3 separate regions of the Homo sapiens genome follow, and regions 1 and 2 are each linked to region 3. The links are contacts of gene promoters, found by promoter capture Hi-C in human tissues and cell types (Jung and others, 2019). All regions are on one chromosome and are shown on one strand. The core of a region is centred on a gene start or on the middle of the fragment in contact, and the rest is flanking DNA. Distances in the headings are between cores, read along the strand shown. Region 1 overlaps MVB12B (multivesicular body subunit 12B). Region 2 overlaps MVB12B (multivesicular body subunit 12B). Region 3 holds the start of RABEPK (Rab9 effector protein with kelch motifs).

The links. Contacts are between HindIII fragments. The study calls those that stand out against the background at their distance.
Region 1: a fragment that was not itself captured here is called in contact with the fragment with the promoter of RABEPK in region 3 in 1 of the 25 tissues and cell types used here (dorsolateral prefrontal cortex).
Region 2: a fragment that was not itself captured here is called in contact with the fragment with the promoter of RABEPK in region 3 in 1 of the 25 tissues and cell types used here (hippocampus).

What each region holds. Positions count from the first base shown.
Region 1 is chr9:126,434,770-126,437,469 of GRCh38, forward strand. The region is part of intron 7 of MVB12B (multivesicular body subunit 12B); the gene reads left to right. Among named protein-coding and RNA genes, the nearest start is that of NRON, 26 kb to the left of the region's middle. RefSeq lists an enhancer at 1,352-2,700. The HindIII fragment of the contact is 5,330 bases long and covers 1-2,700 here.
Region 2 is chr9:126,416,688-126,419,387 of GRCh38, forward strand. All of the region lies in intron 6 of MVB12B (multivesicular body subunit 12B), which reads left to right. Among named protein-coding and RNA genes, the nearest start is that of NRON, 7.5 kb to the left of the region's middle. The HindIII fragment of the contact is 5,681 bases long and covers 1-2,700 here.
Region 3 is chr9:125,199,197-125,201,896 of GRCh38, forward strand. It overlaps RABEPK (Rab9 effector protein with kelch motifs), which reads left to right and starts at 1,346. Exons shown (of 8, transcript NM_005833.4): 1 at 1,346-1,710. It overlaps LOC105376271 (a long non-coding RNA gene), which reads right to left and starts at 1,200. Exons shown (of 2, transcript NR_135145.1): 1 at 1,030-1,200; 2 at 337-459. RefSeq lists a silencer at 1,224-1,273. The HindIII fragment of the contact is 10,811 bases long and covers 1-2,700 here.

The DNA of each region.
Region 1 (2,700 bases), core at 58-2,557, 1.2 Mb after region 3:
CTTGGCTATTTATGCTTCTTGTAAAACTCTGGCCATTTGCTTGGTTTCCGAGTTCTAAGAAAGGAGATCCATCTCTGGTCATCATGTGGAGTTCAGGGTTCATTCTGGAGGGCAAGATGATGTCTCCTTCACTGGTGTGTGCCTGATGCCCAATGCCCAGCCCAGGGCCTAGCATACAGGGGATGTTCCATGACACTCAATGTTTCGTTGATTCTGAGAGGACCTGGGTCTTAGAACTGGTTCACCCTTTTGTATCCACCCTTTCCAGCTACATTACTTTAGACAGTTTATATAACATTGCAGTCTGTTTTCTTTTTTTTTTTGTAATTTTGAATTATATTTTCTCTTCTGAATTTGAGGATTAAAGATAATGTACATGAAATACCCAGTGCCTAGTACCAAGAGGGCACTCCAGAAGTGGAGCTGCTATAACTGCCGTAAATATTGTTATTCCAGGGAATTGCTGCTTATTATACCAGAAGGCACTGGTCTCATTCACCCTGCAGTGTGACCTCACCTAAAAGTCCAGCCGGGGATGGAGAGGGTGCAGCTGACAGAGGGAGCTCATGAATGGTGGGACCTGGCATGGCTCAGGGAAACTTTTGGCATAATAGAAGGCAAACCCTCCCTTCTAGTTCAGAAATGTGTAATTGCTGGAGATGTTAGCTTGCTACTGGGTAAAATGATTTTAAAGAGAGAACTTCTCAACATTTAAATCAGCCTCAATTTTCCATGTTCCTTTTCATCAAGTCAGCTCTGGTTTGAGAAGGGATCATATCGGCACTCAACCCTTTAAATGATTTTCCTTCTTTGCCTTTCTTTTTCTTTCTCTTTGGCCTTGGCTCCTTCCTTTCCAACCACTCCCCTCCCAGAACCTCTTATTTTAGCCAAAAAAAAAAAAAAAAAGTTTCTTTCCTTGCTCCAGAATCACACCACCCACCGAGCACATCATCTGGAAGTCCCCTGTCCCTGAGCTCACTTGCTGCCAGGCCGGCGGCACCCAGAGGCTCGAAGGCCACAGGGGCACACCGTCTTTTCTCAGGGTTGGAGAGAGTAGATTAGACAACATCCTCAGATGTCCCGTCTCATGGCAGGTCACTGCCACTGTGAAGGGTACGGCTGTAGATGCGGGGGGACTGCTTGTTTCTTCAGGCTACATTTTTTAAAAAGAGATCATACCTTTTCTTTGGATTTAATGAGGACAGACATTTTAATCAGAGGTTAGTCATTTATTTTTGCAAACTATTGTTTTGATTCATCATTTTTGCAGATAATTAAATGGTTCAGTTGGCACAGTATGTCTACTTTATTAAAACAGGTAATTTTGGGGAAAAAAAGAGATGCTGTTTTTTGGATCACTGCACAAGAATTGCTTTTATCTTCATCTTTGAGCATAGTTTCTGGTTATTTTGCCAGGAGGCTCTCTCGTGTTCGGGCATTTGGGGTCCTTTCTGGTCTGGAGGGGCTTGCCCTTTGATGATTGGGATGTTAGCAGATACGCCCTTTGAAACGGGAGCTGAAGAGTAAATTCTGTGCAGCCGCCTTTTAGGAACACTCTTAGGTTTTAATTGGATTGGGAAAAAGAACCTACAAGTTATGAACTTTGCAGAGCAGCAGTTCTTATGCTAAAAACAGATTAATTGTAGCCCTCGCAGTGGGTGGAGTTTCAAAGTCAATTACTGCTTGTCCTATTATAATTTACACACACAGGATTTGAAAAAGTCTGCCACTTAGTATAAAAGTGAAAAGGTTACGTGTACTAGTTTGAGTATACCTATGACTTTTCATTTGTAAATGCTTTAGCTACATGTATGTGTATGTATGCAACTTGCAGCTGTGGAGCTGTAACTACATCTGTGAGCAAGATTCCTTATGAAGAGTAACCTTTAAGGTCTGGTTCCTTAAATCCGTAGTGGCTCAGCATATAGTCCTTTGTCTGGCAGTCCAGTCCACTTGTGGGCACAGTGGCTGGCCCCTGCAGAGCCTAAGGGGCACTCCACTCATGAGTCATGAACTAGTAAGGGAATGGCCCTTCCTGGGTCAATTTTTTAAAAGCGAATTGCTCACAACATTTGCTTTCTTTAATTTTTTCCATGTTTGTGTCCTGAATCAGTTAATTTACTCATTAAAAGAATTTATTTTAGGTGGACCAATTAAAACTTTGGAAGCTAATTTTTTGCTGAGCAGAGCAGACCTCTGAAAACACAATTTATAACATGGCTTCTGCCCTTCCACAGAGAGCTGTCTTATGGTACTGTAACCTCTGGTGCTTGCAGAAGTACAAAATTGCTGTTCTTTGTCCTCCAGCTCTGGAGCTGAGCTGCCGTGTGGGTGGGTTTCTCGAGCCTTCCCATTGTTTTAGGGTGAACAGGCAAGTCTGAAAAGTCCAGCCCAGCCCAGGAGTGGCATGCTGTATTTGTTTGCTTGCGTAAACTCCATAGTTTAATTTTTTTTAATAGGAAGCTGCTATGTAGTTCGGATATTTAAACAGTTATTAACCGAATGACAATTAACAGATTGCATAGACAGATTTTCTTTTGAAAACCTCTGAAATTGAGTACAGTTTGCAAAACTATCACGGCATAGTAATGACAATGAATTTTGATTTCCCGGAACTGATATTAGACTCCTTATTAAACTATGTGCATCTGCTTTTAATTTACTCCAAATAATTGGAAAATGCAATGAAGCTTTCCAATT
Region 2 (2,700 bases), core at 112-2,611, 1.2 Mb after region 3:
TTCCCTTCATCAGCTTTACCTCTCAGAGCCTCAGTTTCCTATTCTGTTAAATGAGAATAATTACTCCTACCTAAAAAGGTTGTTGAGGTGATGAGGCCGGGTGATATATTGAGGACCCCCAGCCCAGGTCCTGGCAGGTGGGGCTCCATCCCACGCTGGGGAACTGGAATCTCATCTCGCCAGAGACCCAGCTGATGGCAGAGCCTTCATCCTTGTCTCTCACTTTCAGGCTAATCTGACACCAAAGCACTCCTGGGCCACTTCTCCTTCGGCAGGTGACTTGTCCTGTTTAACCACAGGTAATCTGTCCCTGGGGCCCAAACTGTTCATTCTCATTAATGGGAAGCCTTGATGTGCCTTTCTGTCCTGTCCCCATGTCCCCTGCTTCCTGTGTCCAGGAGTAGTGGAAGCAGAAATGCAGGGGAAGCTATTTGCCATGTAGGGAGGAGCCCTTCTCCCTAAAGCTTTCTCTGCCCAGGGGGCCTTCTCACCTGCTGCTCTCTGACTGCTGTCCCTTACCCACTCTTGCATCAGCTACTTTAGCTGGAGTATTCAGTAACCTGATTTCAATTCAGCAGATCCCTACTGAGCAGTTATTCTGCAGAAAATACAGTCAGCCTGTGACTTGAATCCTCTTTTAATTTCACATTTGCTGCATCAGGCACACATTGTCTATCATATATGAACAGAAACCTTCTTTTTTTTCCCTTCTTGTAAATTCCTGGTTGCTGCTGCTGCTGATTTCTTCTTACCCATACCTGGTTTCCTCCATAATGGAGAGAGGTGAGATTCAGGGTATAAAACAGAGACCCCTGGAGCCTAATTAATTGGGAAAATACACACAGGGAGAAATGAAATGATAGAGACTAACAGCAGTTCATGTCAAAAAAGAAACCCAGGAGTTTTAGTGAGCCAACTACAACACTTGATTTGGTCAACAAATGGTCAGTAATTGTCTACCCTGTGACAAAAAATTGTCCCAGAAAATGAAGTACAAAATTGATGATATTTGGCCCTGCTCTTGAGGAGGTCACAATCACATTAGGGAACAGGTTTATATCAGATGACCAAAGTGTACTGTGATACCTGGAGTGGGGTGAGAGAAGACACTCAGGCATCCAATCCAGTCTGGGGCAAGCCCAGGAAAGGTTTTTCCAAAGAGGGCATGGTTGGGTGGGATCTTGAAGTATGAATAGGAGTTTGGAGAGTCGGTAAGGAAGAATGGAGATTCCTAGGAAGAGGGAGTGGCATGGATAAAGAATCAGGCCTAGGCATGAGAAAAACAAGGCCTGTTCAGAGATTAACAAGACTTCCACTCTTTCTGGAGGAGAGGGGAAGTAAGTAGTGGCAAGAGGCAGAATCTGGAAGGTGGGCTGGTGTGCCGGGGATGTGTAAGTGTACAGAGTGAGAAGACAGCTAAGCCAGCACCCTTGCAAACAGCAACCTTGCAAAGTTTGGAGACGAAGTGGGAGTTGGCGGGGTGGGGGGTGGTGGGCAGAAAGAATCATCTCCAACGAGGGAAGAGAACCTGGGGCGGGGGTTGAGTTGCAGAGCAAGCCAGGCAAAATCTGAGGCCCCGAGGGACAAGAAAGTTTGGTCCCGGACATCAGTATTGCATGGAGCAGCTGAAGAGCTGGGCCCCTTGATTTCTCTGTTGTTCATATACTTTTTTGTGGTTGTTATTGCTCATATATTTCTTTTAAGTCCTAAATTTCCCCAAAACTATCCATTTAGAGGGTCTGTGGCAAGTCATGTCGACAGGAATGAAGTCTCTGCACAAAGTAGATAGTGAATAATTGTAGGCTCATGATCATTTCCTGCTACCATTCCCATCCACATTGGCGCCTTAGTTTTATTTCCTCACTCTCCCACAGACGGGCAAGCTTTTGAAATTGTAAATTGGATGTTGGCACATTTCTGCTTAAAAATCATTCCAGAGAAAGGCAGAACCCATGCTGGGCTCCACGTGGCCTGGCCCCACCGTCTTCCTGGCCTTCTAGGCATGGCCACCCTGGCTTCCTCCTAAGTCTGGAGGAGGTCAGACTCCCCACGGAGCCTCGAGTGCTCACCCCTCCTCCCTGCTGCATCTCTCTGATTTCTGCCTATCTTCAGTTCCCACCTCAATGTACCTTCCTCCAGGAAGCCTTCCAGGGAGCCTTCTCCTACCCTGCCCTTCCTAGCACTTGAGTCTTCCCGCCTTCCATAGGAAATGATCACACTTGTAAGCAAGTGTTCAGGTAACTTTATGGATATTTTCGTGTCCCCCTGCCTGTCCTGCCACCACTGAGTCCCCCACAGATCTGTATTGATGCATATTTGACCACCCAACAGCTCGGCTGGCCCCATTTTCTCCTCTGCCTCCTGGCTGGCCTCTTTGCCATCATCCATGTCCACCTGGCTCCCAAAGTTCTGCTAATGCTCCTGCCTCCTCTGTGAGCCTCCCTGAATGCTTCTAGCTCCTGGAGTGTTTACCGCACTGCACAAATCGCTCTGCATCCTTAGTTAGGTTGCGTGCACCTTTTTAGGGCTTTGGAGGCTTAGAAATCTTAGTCTGGCAGCCATGAAGCAAAATACTTCCCTGGCTCCTGGAAATTCCCTCATTGGTATAGTGAGTGCAGTTATAGCACCTACCCTGGATCCTTTTAGTCACACACACAAAGCCCTGTGCTCAGAAGGGCCCCACCATGGGTTTAATGCTCT
Region 3 (2,700 bases), core at 96-2,595:
TGGCACTATCTCGGCTCACTGCAACCTCCGCCTCCCAGATTCAAGCAATTTTCCTGCCTCAGCCTCCTGAGTAGCAGGGATTACAGGCGCCCACCACCACGCCTAGCTAATTTTTGTGTTTTTAGTTGGGGGGGGGGGCGGGGGCGTTCACCATGTAGGCCAGGCTGGTCTCGAACTCCTGACCTCGTGATCCGCCCGCCTCGGCCTCCCAAAGTGCTGGACTTATAGGCGTGAGCCACCGCGCCCAGCCTATGATAGAAATCTTATTAGCTCCATGGTTACAAACAGACAACCCTGAGGCCTGGAGGAAAGTAACTTCAGAACAGATACTCTCCTGGCTGAACTTTATATTTATTGCACTCTTGGCAGTCGTCCCTAGTTGTCTTTTTCTTTGATCTCTCTCTAGTTAAGACTTGCTCCTGGAGGCAAAGCGTGGTGGTGTCTGGCTCAGCATAGCACCTGCCATAATTACAAATGGCAATTATGGAATGAATCAGCTGTTTAAAGCACCAAATCTTGAGCTGGCCCGAAGACTGCGCAGGAGGATTGCATGCTCAACTCTCCCCTTTAGAAACTGTTAACAATCGTTGTGGCCGGGCGCGGTGGCTCACGCCTGTAATCCCAGCACTTTGGGAGGCCGAGGCGGGTGGATCATGAGGTCAGGAGATCGAGACCATCCTGGCTAACAAGGTGAAACCCCGTCTCTACTAAAAATACAAAAAAAATTAGCCGGGCGCGGTGGCGGGCGCCTGTAGTCCCAGCTACTCGGGAGGCTGAGGCAGGAGAATGGCGTGAACCCGGGAAGCGGAGCTTGCAGTGAGCCGAGATTGCGCCACTGCAGTCCGCAGTCCCGCCTGGGCGACAGAGCGAGACTCCGTCTCAAAAAAAAAAAAAAAAAACAATCGTTGTAACTGGAAATGTAACTGTTATACCCTCCCCCCCTTTTATTTATTTATTTTTTTGAGAGGGAGTTTTTGCGCTGTTGCCCAAGCTGGAGTGTGGTGGCGCCCAGCCCTGTTAGCCCCTTACAGAGTAGATCAGCTGCCGCAGGCATCTGAGTTCCCCAAACGGACGCCCGAACCCGGCATTGCGCAAATCGTTTCCAAGTAGCCCCGGCTTATTTATCCCGTCCGGGAGGGAGGGACCCAGGGAAGGCCCACCCCACTTGGTTCCCGAGAAATGCAGAGCCTGGCGTCCACTCCCGGTCTGGGGGACCCCTCCACCGCCAGCCCAGGAAGTCAGCGCCGGGCCCTCGGGGCGGAGCAGGGAAGAGGGAGCGGTTGGCCCGGACGCTCTTCCGGGTCCTGGGAGGAGGGCCCGGACCTAAGCCCCGCCCCTCCGGGGTGGAGTCACGGCTCGCGACTGGCCTAAGTCGCCGCAGGTATTGCAGTCCGGGGCTGGAGGGTAGGGGCGAGGGTCCCCGGATACCGGGTCTATCACGGTCTCGGGCAGGGAGTCTGAATCTTTTAGGGGAGTGGGCCCAAGCCGGGTGCAAAGAACGGGGAAGGGCCTTCCCTGGCTCCGTCCCGGCCACTTTGACCGAATCAGCCTGTTCTTTCCCGACCCCGTCTCCTATCCCCTAGAACTGCCACGTGGGGATGAGATTTGCTGGGCTGGTAGCGGCGGCTGCTGCGGGAGGTCCCGCCCACGTGAAGCCAGCCTAACTGAGCTCTGGACTTTGGGGACAGCTGTCAGTGGCCTAGGCCGCAGGTGAGATTTATCCATTCATCTCTCAATCTATTTTCTTTCTTCATTCACTAGCCACTCCCCCACTTCTACTCCATGCCAGGTCCATTGGTAGGTTCTCGGAATGGATCTGACAGGCCCAGCCCTCTAGGAACTTAGTCTAGTGGAATTTAATCTAGAATCTAGTCTAGAAGCCTTAAATAGATAAACATTCCAAATGATTCCTGCAATGGTGATGGCTAATACCTTCAGAGCCCAGTGGGTGGAAGAAGGAAGTAACTTGGATGTGGGTGGAAGAGAAAAGGGCAAATCAGGGAAGGTTTCACCAGGGAAGGGACTTTTGAACTGGGCTTTGAAGGTTAACTAGGAGTTTGCAAATTTCCCAGAAGGGAAGCGACATTCCAAATAGGGGAAGCAGAACAGGCTGCAAAATTATGAAAAGGCCTGCCATATTACAAGAACAGCAAAAAAACCAATAATGCAAGAGATTGTGGAGGTGAGTTCACGGGAAAAAAGCTCAACAGCAGAAGGCCTTACTTTCTATGCTATGTTGAGGCCAAGATTTATCCCAGAGCTCAGTATTTCTCAGCTTCTTTAAATATTTTGTCCTTTGAGCGGAGAGCAGTGGCTCACACCTGTAATCCCAGCTTTTTAGGAGGCTGAGGTGGAAGAATTGCCTGAGGCTAGGAGTTCGAGACCAGCCTGGACAACAAAGCGAAACCTCCATTTCTATTTTTTTTTCTTTTTTTGAGGAGGAGTCTTGCTCTGTCGCCAGGCTGGAGTGCAAGTGGCGCAATTTCGGCTCACTGCAACCTCCGCCTCTTGGGTTCAAGCAATTCTCACGCCTCAGCCTCCTGAGTAGCTGGGACTACAGGCGTGGGCCACAACGCCCAGCTAATTTTTTTTGTATTTTTAGTAAAGACAGGGTTTCACCATGTTGGCCAGGATGGTATCGATCTGACCTCATGATCCGCCTGCCTCGGCCTCCCAAAGTGCTGGGATTACAGGCGTGAG